Regions from separate parts of the Homo sapiens genome. Here region 2 is linked to region 1. Evidence: promoter capture Hi-C in human tissues and cell types (Jung and others, 2019). All regions are on one chromosome and are shown on one strand. The core of a region is centred on a gene start or on the middle of the fragment in contact, and the rest is flanking DNA. Distances in the headings are between cores, read along the strand shown. Region 1 holds the start of TRIM55 (tripartite motif containing 55). Region 2 overlaps CSPP1 (centrosome and spindle pole associated protein 1).

Region 1 (7,092 bases), core at 3,201-5,700:
CCTGGAATCCAGGGAGCAAGGGGTTCAACCCAGGGGGAGAGTAAAAGAATTCCCAAGTAGAGGTAAAGCCCAGCCATGTGAGGGCTCAGTCCTAATTGTCTACAGTGGAAAGTCAATAGAAAATGTCTAAAATTGAAAAATCAAAGAATAGGAGCATACCAGTAGTATGCACATGTCATTGGTGATAAATAGCAGAAAAACAGCTAAAAGAATTAAAAGTGGTTGACTCTGGGGAATGAGGCTTGGGGGTGGGTAAAGAGAGAACAGAGTGGAGACTGCATTTCTCTTCAGAGGCCCAGTAGTAATGAATTCTAAAAGTTGTGTATGTTGATTACTTTAAGGCACTAAAAGCTTTAATAGGGTAGCAGTAATTATAATAATCAACACCTCACCGGATTATTGTGAGAATTAAAGAATTGCACATGATTCATGTGTTAGGCACCCTGAACAGTGTCTGGCATGCAGCACATAGTAGTTTTACTTGTTATATTTTAAAGTTAATTATTATTATATTAATTATTAATATTAGCCAAAATAGTACCTTCTCTTACCATCTCCCACTCCCAACTGTGGCTAGTCTGGCACCATGCAGAATTCTGGATAAGAATGCCAAGTTTTGGCTGGGCGCAGTGGCTCATGCCTGTAATCCTAGCACTTTGGGAAGCCGAGGCGGGTGGATCAAGAGGTCAGGAGATCGAGACTATCCTGGCTAACACGGTGAAACCCCATCTCTACTAAAAATACAAAAAAATTAGCTGGGCGTGGTGGCAGGTGCCTGTAGTCCCAGCTACTTGGGAGGCTGAGACAGGAGAATGGCGTGAACCTGGGAGGCAGAGCTTGTAGTGAGCCAAGATCACGCCACTGCACTCCAGCCTGGGAAACAAAGCAAAACTCCATCTCAAAAAAAAAAAAAAAAAAAGAATGCTAGGTTTTGTGGAGACTTACAGTCTCCAGCCTTTCTGGAGGAGGTCAGAGTTGACTGACAACATCCCAGTCTGTGATTGGTCACCCCCCCCGACCCCCTTCCAATAGCCACAGCTGAACTCTTTTCATTCTGTATATCCAAGGTCATTCCAGTGTTACCTAATGTACCCTGAGGCTCAAGATTCTGGTCTAGTAAGGCTGTCTGCCCCCAGGGGACAACTGCGTTTCCTCCCAGACATGTGGCCAAGTGCTCTGTGCAACTTGTGGTTTTGCTACCAAGTAAAATTGTCCCACAGGAAAGTCTCAAGTTCAAGAAAAAACAGCATAACAAAATCACAGAAAATCACAAAAGCATCCCTAGTTCACTCAACTATGAGCTTTATTGTTGGAAATTTGGTTCATTGCTTTTACGCAATTTACTTCCCAGGCCTGGGTACTATTTTTGGCAGCTGCACCAAGCCAACTTCATAGCTAAGGTGAAGATGTGTTTTGTAGTTTTACCAATACTGCAAGTTTTAACATCTCTTCTCTGGATTTCATAACAAGTATTGCTATTTTTTCATGTCTCAAGTTCCCACTGTGACAAGTAACAAAACATAAATTTATTGCAATAAATAGAACATGAAAGAATATTTGTGGTGTTGCTTAATCAGCTGGGATTTATGGGGCAACTATTCTGTGCAAAGCACTGTACTAGCTCTGAAACTTGTTACGTAAGAATATTTGTGGTATTGCTTAATCAGCTGGGATTTATGGAGCAACTATTCTGTGCAAGACACTGGACTAGCACTGAAACTCTTGTTATATAAACTCTCTTAATATTAGGTTGGTGGCAAAGTAATTGCTGTTTTGGCCATGAAAAGTAATTGCAAAAATCGCAATTACTTTTGCATCAATCTCATAATTAATTGGTTTTTAATTGGCTGGTTAAGTTTTTAAGAGACAAGTGTGTATTTGTATTTTAAAGTAGTGAAATACAATGAGATCAAATCTGTAAAGTAACAGCAACAGCAATAGTACTTTTGTTCTTGTCAAGAGACTTTGGAAGCAAGGGAAACAGCCAGCTGCAATCTCTGCAATATGTCATCAGCAATTCTTCCCCAAACCCATCTAGATCCTGGTACTGTCTAATTTAGTTTTGGATCTTTAGCGGAAATTAATAGCTATAATAATTATAATAATTATGTTAGATTTATAGAACAGCTTTCCTTCCAAGAGCACAAGCCTCTTAGAGCTCTGCAGATGTTCCATAAATACGTGTCCCCTAATGGAATCACAATGAGGCCATTTCTAGATGGTCTCAATATTGCTATCAAGCTTTGTGGACTGGACTGACCTGCACACAATTGAAAAGGGGCTCTTCACACCGTGCCTTCTAGGAATAAGCTTCCCGCAGCATTGTGTCTAGGAAAGGAATTCTATAGCCAATGTGGTTTGGTGAATAAGAAGCCTTTTTTGTTATTTTTTAAAAATGAATGGATAGATATATAATGCTATCACGATGTTATTCACAATCAACAAGTGAATGCTGACTATGCAGTAAATACAGTATAAGGAATAGGGAAACATAACCTGAATTTCACCCTTTTTTTTCCTCATGGCTCTGAAGTTTAAGTCCCTAAAGGCCAGGGTTTTGCCTTGCTTTGTGACTTCCCTTAGAGTAAATACAGTGACAACCTATGTTAGAGGATTTTGTTTTTATTATCATCCAAACAATTTTAAGGCAAGACTGTCTGAACTAGGAACTGGGCTACTTCGGAAGATGCCATTTCTATTAATTTTCTATTAAGTATTTACTAGATTTTTTTTTCTTTGCTTTGTAGGGATCTGGAGCTACAAAGTGCCTGTGAAGTGCAAAATGTGTAAAATGGATGTAATACCAGGCTTTAAGGTGGAGGGGGACAGCAGTATGTCTCTTTCAGCATCACCATCTGGAATGGATTGGTGTTAATGAGTCACTTCATTCTTAAATTGATACAAAAGCATGGGCACCAACTCCCCTCTCTCCTGCTGTGAGCAACTCTCAGTCTCACTGGGAAGGACTGACTTGGAAAACCATTTTTCCATAAAACAGTCTGTGATTGATAAACAAGCATTCAGCGTAGCAACCCATTAAAACAAACAAACAAAAACAAGTTTCAGATGGGCTTGACACATGGAAGAGTGGAAGAGTGTTACCTGGTGGACTCCTGCTTGTAGATGTCAATGATATTTTCCACCAGCAGGTTCCTCTGAAGTCCATATACCCCATGTCTATCCAAAACCACTTCATGTCTACAGGATGGGCAGCGGAATCGGCCCCCTGATGCCATGGTGGTACCTCCTCTTGTGGGCAAATACGGGTTAGAGGCCTGTTCTTGCCAAGTAAGAAAAAAGGAATTGGGTAATGCCACAAGCAGCTTCTCTGAGACTTATTTTCACTCTCTGCTACTACAAACAACATGAACTTCTACTTTAAGCTTGCCATAAGATCATCCCTCAGGGCTTTCTCAGCAAGTGGTCCTGAAACACAGGGTCAGACCTTATCCACAGTCATCTGCGAATATACCATTGTCCACGTAAGGTGCTTTTCCGTCCACCACTTTCAGAACCAAAAGTTCCAGCCAGAAACTCCACACTCATGTCTTCAGCAGTTACTCATTTATAGTTTTGAAACACATTAAATGGTTTGACTTAAAAAAAAATATGATTCTTAGTATTAAAATAAAACTAGATTTGGGAGTAAAGAGGACACAAACCAAATCATTAAAAGAAACGTGTTTTTCTTGAAAGTAAATGCAACTTTATAAAGTTTTTTTGTTTGTTTGTTTTTCTTTTTTTGAGACAGAGTCTTGCTCTGTTGCCCAGGCCGGAGGGCAATGGCACGATCTCCGCTCGCTGCAATGTCCGCCTCCTGGGTTCAAGCAATTCTCCTGCCTCAGCCTCCCAAGTACCTGAGATTATAGGTGCCCGCCACCATGCCCAGCTAATTTTTTTTTTTTTGTATTTTTAGTGGAGATGGGGTTTTGCCATGTTGGCCAGCCTGGTCTCGAAGGCCTGACCTCAGGTGATCCACTGGCCTCAGCCTCCCAAAGTGCTGGGACTACAGGCGTGAGCCAAAGCGCCCGGCAACCTTATAAAGTTTTTTAAAGGATTTCACCTCAATGTTAAGCACTTGATTCCAAGAGGAGGGAATCTTTTCCACCCCCTCCCCTCAACCAAATTCCAAACAAACCTACCTGGAAAATATCACTGGCACATTTCCTACACAGGTTGTGCTGACAAGGGAGAATCACCACAGGTTTCGTGAACATCTCTAAGCAGATGGGACAGATGAGTTGCTTCTCTAAGTTATCCATGGTCTGCTGCTCTTTGGAAAAAGATTTGTAATTCAGAGATGCGCTCATCTCCTCGCTGTCCCCAAGTGTGCTGCCAGGGAAGGGTGCTGCGAGTGGCTCCAGCAAGTGTTTCCTGGATATTATTCCAGGGATTGTGTGATCAAGTGTCCTTTACGTTTCTCTCGGTGGAGGACATTGTTTCAGGCCCTGGTTTGGAGTGGGTGCTGGAGCTGTTTTTAGCAGCCTGCGGTCACGTGACGGTGGGCTGACGTGTCCATATAAGCCAGTGACAGGAGGATGGATCCTGACAGGTGACGGAGAGCAGGAGTCAACATTCTTGCCCCAGGGAGTGAAGAGAGTGGGTGGGAAGGAGGATTACAAACCCCATTTAGACGGGGTTGTGAGGAGAAGGAGGTCGAAGCTGACAGTTGTCAACAACAAATGCAAATGTGCATGCCTAGCCACTGAACCATGCCCTCTGTGAGCACTCACTGAGAACTTGGCGATGGCTTCTCCAGGAAGGGGCAGAACGCAGCACAGAGTCTGTGTAACTAATGCCAGCCCTGTCTTGAGAGTGTAGGAATTGAGTCACGGAAAGTAGCCTAATAGCACCTTCTTAGGTGAAAATGAACAAAACATGTCTCGAAAATTGTTATCCTGGCTTCACAAAGGCAATCATCAAAAAGACTTTCTTAATGTTAAGTATTTCATCTTTGTCAGCTGGGGTTGTGGTCTTTGAAAAATTCCAATTTAAAAGCTAAATTCAAATCCCTTCACCATAAAGGTATCCACCTAATAAATAAATAAATACATGCATAAATAAAAATTCAAAACCAGTGGATGATCTAATTATTTGAGAAAAAAGTTACATTATAAAACAACTCTAGTATGCTGTTTGCTCTTCCACATTGCTTTCCTCTTCCTTGGCCCTCTTTCATCCTATACTGCCCCACCTCCTACATACACCCAAAAACACAAAGAAAATTTGATAGTCTTTTACTGATTATTTAAATTCTTAAATTATATAATAGTTTGCAACAATAATCTGTAATGAGGTAGTAACTGGCAGGCACCTGGAGGTGGCAGATCTATTATTTTATTTTGTCATCCCTTGGGGGACAGTTACCAGTGCCATTGACAACTGAAGTATAAATGGAGTCCTACTTCCATATCTGCATTTCATCTGCCTCCAAAATACCTATTCTCCCTTGCATTTCCCCTTCCTCCAAGGTGACTTGTTAAACCATAGTTTCTCTGGTCATTTCTGATATTCTTGGTCTGCTCTTGAGTCATAAACATCGATTCTGACATTCATCAGGATTTTGTGAAGCAACAGTTTAACCAATACATATTGTATTTAAAAATGTTTAAATCAGATCAAAAATAAAAAAGAAATCCAAGTCTGTTTATATGTGATAAATTTCGGCTTTCTTTCTCCTTCATTTTAAAAACCTTGGGCAATAAACACATTTTGTTAACATATCCCTGGTGTGAATTAAATTACCAGTGAAGTGTAGGTCAGTTATGTGTGGTCTTAGTGCTGTGTGCACGGAGAGCTTATTGAGAATCTAGTAAGCTCTATTAACTAATAATAAGTTATATATATTCATAAGCATATCAGGGATCTTTAGAGAATTATCTTAGTCCTTTCAATATTTATTTAGCAACTACAGGGAGGACGGGAACTGGTAAAGTTTTTTTACTGAGTTACTTTGGTTCACCCAGCCTAGGCAGTTAATTGTGTTTATCAATTCATGGGCTATGGAGGGGAGGTCTGAGTACAATATGTGGGATATTTTCTAGGAAAGATTAAGTTTCTACTGCAAAAGACCTTGCTATCTAAGTAAAAGCACTTAGACTAATCATGCACATTGCAGCAGAGTCTTTTCTTTTAGAAGGAATTCATTCCTTCAAAATACATTCATTGGATATGTGTAGTGTGTCTCCATTGTGTGAGGCTCTGGGTATTGAAAGATGAACAAGACATAGGTCATTGGCCTCAAGGAGCTCAGTATAAGAGTGGAGATGAGACATGCACACACAGAACATAGTACAAAATAAAATGTGATAAAGAGTACAAGCCAAAAAGTACCTGAGACAGGTCTCAATCGAGAAAGTTTGTTTTGTCAAGGTTAAGGGCGCGTGCCAGGAGGCAGGCCTGCATCTTTCTCCAAAGAAGATTTCGAAGGCTTTAATATTTAAAGGGAAAAGAATGGATATTGGGGAAAGAGAAAAAAAATTTCAGTTGTGGGTAGATAAGAGGCAAACAGTTGCATTCTTCTGAGTCTTTGATCAGCCTTTCACCAAATACATAATTTACATGTTGGGGCTGGGCGGTGGGTAGAGGAATAATAGTCATTTATGTCTTCCTTTAGCTCAGTGAGTCTGCATTTTTACATTAGAGGAAGAAAGCAGATATGCATTTGTCTCAGGTGAGCAGAGAGATGACTTAGAGTTCTGTCCTTCGTACCATGCCTGTGAAGATAAGCTGTCAATTTACACTGTCAGGGTAAAATTCAACAAAACTGTTTTAGGGTAAAGATATTGGGGCCTATAAGGAATTTCCCAGTGTGCAAATTGTAAGGGAGGTATGTAGCGTTTAAATCTTTGTAGCTATCTTATTTAGGAATAACGTGGGAGGCAGGTTTGCCTGACGCAGTTCCCAGCTTGACTTTTCCCTTTGGCTTAATGATTTTGGGATACCAATATTTATTTTCCTTTCACAACAGCTACAGCATTTCAGGGTCAGAGGAATCAGAAGGGCTTCATGGGTGGGGGTAGTGTTTGAACTGCTGCACCGAGGATCTCAGAGGGATGGACGTGTAGTTAGGTGGGGCATGGCTGGGGCTTT
Region 2 (6,145 bases), core at 1,667-4,166, 1.0 Mb before region 1:
TTGAGAAAGTTTATTTTAGATTAATTAATTCTTTTTTTTTTTTTTTTTTTTGAGATGGAGTCTCACTCTGTCACCAGGCTGGAGTGCAGTGGCGTGATCTCAGCTCACTGCAACCTCCTATTCCCGGGTTCAAGCAATTCTCCTGCCTCAGCCTCCCAAGTAGCTGGGACTACAGGCACATGCCACCACGCCCAGCTAATTTTTGTATTTTTAGTAGAGACGGGGTTTCACCATGTAGGCCAGGATGGTCTCGATCTCCTGGCCTCATGATCCGCCTGCCTCAGCCTCCCAAAGTGCTGGGATTACAGGCGTGAGCCACTGCACCCAGCCAATTAATTCATTCTTAGGGAAGAAAAGTCTAATTTGGGAATTTCAATTCACAAAAAAAAGGAAGTTTTAAACATTTTATGGTTTTTTTTTTACTCAATTCTTAAAACAGAACATCTTGGCAACAATATCAGCATAAAAACCTGGCAGTGGTACAGAAAGGCTATAGGCAACAAATTTTGCTGTGCATGTTTAATCATCAGGCTTATGCTTTTGGGAAGGGATCATGGGAACTGTTGATTTTCTGGTGTTTTTGCTTGGTGTGCAAAGCTAGATGGCTAAAAAGTGTTATTACTAAGATAGCGAAAGTTCTAGGCTGAGCCAGAACTACAAACAATACCAGGTATGGAAGAAAAGGGTAGAGAAAGACTCTGTATGGCAATGAGATCTCAATACAGACTACTAGAAGCAGCAGCAAATGAGAAAAATATCAGAAATAAGTCAAAATTCTCTTAGCAGCAATAATATGAAAAGGTGTTGTGATGTTCTTACCACACACTATTACAAATTAAAAGAGCCAAATCAATAATATTGTCAAAATCAAAGGTTCCAATTTTAGTGCTCTAAAAATCAAAACTGGATCCGATAAAATATATTGTAGAACAAAGAAAGCATTTTCTCATAATTAGAAAACACTGGTACAAGCTGCCCATGAAAACGGTAAATAATCCATCTCTTAAACTGTTCAAAAAGGCTACAGATAAGTGTGCTACCATCAAAGCCTTGAAAGATGCAGGGCTATGACTCTAATCACAGCTCCCCACTTCACTTATCTGTTTAGCCAAAAATAAGGGTTAAAAACAAAAAAGACTACATGATCAGTCACAAATATTTTAGAACTTCCTAATGAAAAGTTCTTTTCTAATCTAAAATCAAAACTTCTGTGAAAGCACAAAGTAGAATTTTGTAATGAATAAATGGCCAGTTTTATAGGCATCAAAATATAGTGTGAGGTGCTGTATTAAATTTTATTTTTAAATATATAACACAATTTAACATACCTGACAACTTTTCCTGGTATGTCAAAAAAAGATAATTGAATAATTTTCATCTTTCAGAATTGATTAAAGGATATTAATAGTAAATCAAAGATAAGTAGTTAAGAGGCATGTAACCAGGCGATGGCTCACGCCTGTAATCCCGGCACTTTGGGAGGTGGAGGCGGATGGATCACAAGGTCAGAAGTTCGAGACCAGCCTGGCTAAATGGTGAAACCCCATACCTACTAAAAATACAAAAATTAGCCAGGTGTGGTGGTGGGTACCTGTGATTCCAGCTACTTGGGAGGCTGAGGTAGAGAACTGCTTGAACCCAGGAGGTGGAGGTTGCAGTGAGCTGAGATTATGCCACTGCACTCCAGCCTGGGATAACAAAGTGAGACTCCATCTCACAAAAAAAAAAACAACATTGCTTCATTTCTTTGTACACTGTTGTTTTACAAGGGAGGGTAAATGATTACTAAAACAAGTAAAAAATGAATTTCCCTGTACAATTTATCATATCACAATGATACTGTTTCACTAATTCAAACAGCTATGGATATAAGATGCAAATTGTGTATGTGTGTAAAAAGAGTGTTTGATATTAAGAAATGTCCCCCACTAGCAAAATAAAAATGTTAGCAGCAGCTAAAGGATACACAGCAAGTTACAAAGCTGAGAAGAAACACAGTAGGAAGAAGTAACCTTTCCCTATTCACCTTTTTTCAAAGTAACTATGAAGAAAAGGCACTTTATGAATAGTGTGTTATGTTTCCTGTATCAGGATAGCCAAATTCTCAAGATCCCAATAAGAACTTAGTCACAGAACAGAAATGTTACTGAACAATTTCAGAAATGTAAAAAAAAAAAAAAAAAAAAAAAAGTGATTAAAAACCTGAGCTTTTATTTGCAGCATCTTCTAGGTTCTCAGCATTTGAAGTGGCTAAATTTGGGTCTAGAGATACAACAGCCCTTTTATCTTCATATGTTCTTGCATCTGGGTTATGGTAGGCATCTATATTTTGTCTGTGCATCCTATTCAAATCAGCTGAGAGGAAAAAATAAGCCATTTATTTCAATAAACACATTTCTGTAATTGGCATGCAAAATATATTTTCTTAAAATAGGAAGTCAGAAAGAAAAACAATAGGACAAAGTTGGGAATAATTCAATGATATGTTGGTGCCCTGAAAAGAGAAACAAAATTATCAAAACTTTTAAGATTTTCAAAAAATAATCCTTAAAAATAATCTCAATTAGTAGATAAATTAAGGACACATAAATCTTTAACAAAACATAAAAACCATATTAACAGTATCTATGTTACTTCAGAACTTAGAATTTCTTTAATATAGAAAAAATATAGCAACAATTTAAAACAACTCATAGTGTAATTTACCTGTCATCGGTCTCCTAATAACACATAATTATGTGGAGTGGAGTTTTAAAATATATTCACAAATTACTTGGCAATCCTCCCTCAAAGGGTAAAGCTAAATTCCATTCCCCTTCAGTGGTGTCCAGAGTTAATAACTCACTTCTTATGACTAGCATATTGCAGAAATAATGGTATATGACTTCTGAGGCTACCTCATAAAAGAAATTATTTCCACCTTGCTTATCTATGGATCATTCACTCTGAAGAAAGCCAACTGCCATACCATAAGGACACTAAGGGAGCCCTATGGAGAGGCCCATATGACAAGGAACTAAGGCCTCCTGAGCCATGTGAGGGAGCCATATTGAAAATGAATCTTACAGTCCCCATCAAGCCTCAGATGACTACTGCCATGGTCAACATCTTGGACTCCAACATTATGAGGGAGCCTGAGACAGAACCACCCAACTAAACCACTCACAAATTTCTAACCCTCAGAACCGCAAGATAATAACTGTTTATCATGCTAAAACACCAAGTTTTGGGTTAATTCATTACATAGAATAGATATCTAATACACACAGCAAAAATCTGAGCACCTAGAATTGGGTCAAACAACCAATCTCAAAAACAGAACTGAATGATTACAGAACTTAAAGCTTTAATAAAATAAAAAGTACCTGTTTTCCATAAAACAAACAAACCAAAAAACTGCAACAGTATGGCAGCACTGAAAGTGAACTTAAACCTGGATATAAGAAGTATTTATCAGGAAGCCTGTTATGTTCAAGAATGTATTTTGAACATGAATCACAATTAGAATTCCAGATAGAACATGGCAAGTAATACATAAATGCTACAAAAGAGAATGGGAGTTCAGAATCAGGAAGGTTCACATTCTGTTACAATATTTAGGGCAGCTTGGACTTGGAAAATGTATAGGAGCTTCACAGATGAAGATAAGTAGGAAAGCATAATAGAGAAATAGAACAATGTGAGAAAGCACTCCAAGTGGGTAAAGCATGATGAGTGTTCTGGCAACATTAAAGTAGTCCAGCTAGACTAGAGCATAAAGCACATGTAATAGAGCAATGGCAAATAAGACTGGAAACCATAGAATGGATACCTATTCTTCAATATCCTAAAACACATGTCAATGGCTCTCAATTTTGTTCTGTAGAAGGTAATGGAGGCAGTTGTGGTTGTTACAGAAGTGGGATTAATATATTAGTCTGGCCGGGCGTGGTGGCTCACACCTATAATCCCAGCACTTTGGGAGGCCAAAGAGGGTGGATTACTTGAGCTCAGGAGTTTAAGACCATCCTGGGCAACATGGTGAAATCCCATTTCTACTGAAAATACAAAAATTAGCTGGGCATGATGGCATGTACCTGTAGTCCCAGCTACTTGGGGGGCTGAGGTGGGAGGATCACTTAAGCCGGGGGGGTGCAGGTTGCAGTGAGTCAAAATTACACCACTGCACTTCAGGCTGGGTGACAGAGTGAGACTGTCTCAAAAAAAATAAAAATAAAAATGGTTGAGGGCAAAGAAAAAGATTTAAAGATCAATCTGTAGGGAAGACCTAAAGAGTAACACAGGAGTAAAAGAGATGACATGGAAGAGAATGGATGAAGGGATGAGAAACACACAAGGTCAGATGACAGTCCTTAGAAGAAAGATCATGCTCACAAACCTAGCAGAGTCTAACTCTAGTTCATAATGCACATCCAAAAAATATTAGCTGAAGTCTGGACAGCATCTCGGAGGATACAAAGGACTTAGAGAAAAAAAGGAACTGTCAAGCCAGTTCAAAGAAGATAAAAGATGAGTAAAAATCATTAAATTGAAATTAGGTCATCAGGCTTTTTGTTGACAATGTGGCATGGGGTGGTGGGGCGCGGGGGTACAAGCTAGATGTTATACTATGGAAAAATAGCCAATAAGAGGGTGGTAAGAAGTGACAGCAACAAGCATGGACTACTTTTTGAATGTGTTTTATATGGTAAAGGAAGCATTTGTCTGTGTTTTAATACAAGTGACCTAAGCATGTTCAGAGGTAGAAAGAAGAAATAAATAGAAAAAATGCAAAGAGAAGGGACTGGGTGAAACCACAGAAAAAGGTGACTGCAAGAAAATTCCCAAGTGCCAAGGACTGGCAAGGCAGATAGATATTCTTGAAATAATCTACAGCTGTGTTGCCAAACTAGTGAGTGCTTAGGGAATGCAATCTTAGTTTGATAGTCACCTGCACAAACCATACATTAGGAGATACCCTATATGTAAGCAAACTTCGATAACACATTATAATTTATTGTTGATTATATATGGACTTCTCAACTGGAATAATATTCAACATATTTATATTAAGAGAAAATTAATTTCATCAGAGTACATAATTATTAAGATTTAAGACTATCAGATTTAGCAAGCAAACCAAATCCATATTGCTTTTTATTGGGAAAAATGATTTGGCAACTGGCCACTCCTTTTCTGTCTTTCTGTGAGATGGTAAAATAAATGATTTGAAATCAGCTAAAAAACGAAAATTAAAAAAGGCACTTTGGTCAAGAGTGTAATTTGTCAACTGCAAAGATAGGACTTTATTTTAAATGTAAATCATCATAACATTCAATATAAAATTAGGAGCACTTACGTGCTCCTCACTGAGTGAATTAGCTCATTATAAAAAAATTAATTTTAATTAACTTCACAAGTTAGCTGCTACTCTTTATACTTTGGTGGAAAATACATATCAAAATATATTTTGTGAAGGGCTGAGATATGTTAAATGTTACTATAAACCCAGGATTATTCAGCAATTCATGGCTGACACAGAAACTCTTTTATAATGACCTAATTCAGAGAGCTAAGCAAAATTCCCAACCCTAGCACTACTAACAATACATATATCAAAATTAACCTAATTTAAAATATATACACTTACTTATAGAGTAAAATTCTAACTGATGGCTCATAAAACAAATCTCACAAACTTAAAAACACTGAAGTCATTAAAAGTATATTCTCTCCAGCTGGGCGCAGTGGCTCATGCCTGTAATCTCAACACTTCGGGAGGCTGAGGTGGGAGGATCATTTGAGGCCAGGAGTTTGAGACCAGCTGGGCAAAAAAGTGAGACCCTGTCTCTAAAAAAAATTTTGTAATTAGCTGGGCATGGTAGCATGTGTCTGTAGTCCTTGCTACTTGGGGGAGCTGAGGCGGGAAGATCACTTTAGCCAGGGAGGTTGAGACTGCAGTGAGGCATGACCGTGCCATTGCATTACAGCCTGGGTGACAGAGTGAGACCTTGTCTCAAAAAAAAAAAAAAAAAAGAAAAGTATATTCTCTTACAAAACAGAATACAAACTAGAATTGAATAAAAGAAAGCTCTCAGGAAAATCCCCTGATACTTGGAAAATTTTTAAGTCCACTTCCAAATAACTAATGGGGGTCAAAGAAAAG

What was found. Contacts are between HindIII fragments. The study calls those that stand out against the background at their distance.
Region 2: a fragment that was not itself captured here is called in contact with the fragment with the promoter of TRIM55 in region 1 in 1 of the 25 tissues and cell types used here (mesenchymal stem cells).

The regions. Positions count from the first base shown.
Region 1 is chr8:66,124,487-66,131,578 of GRCh38, reverse strand. TRIM55 (tripartite motif containing 55) reads right to left here and starts at 4,450. Exons shown (of 10, transcript NM_184085.2): 1 at 4,143-4,450; 2 at 3,103-3,275. The coding sequence starts at 4,310. RefSeq lists a silencer at 4,632-4,904 and enhancers at 6,620-7,092, 7,008-7,092, 6,862-7,092. The HindIII fragment of the contact is 11,068 bases long and covers 2,848-7,092 here.
Region 2 is chr8:67,145,993-67,152,137 of GRCh38, reverse strand. CSPP1 (centrosome and spindle pole associated protein 1) reads right to left here. Exons shown (of 31, transcript NM_001382391.1): 18 at 2,203-2,355. Among named protein-coding and RNA genes, the nearest start is that of CSPP1, 85 kb to the right of the region's middle. The HindIII fragment of the contact is 6,758 bases long and covers 1-6,145 here.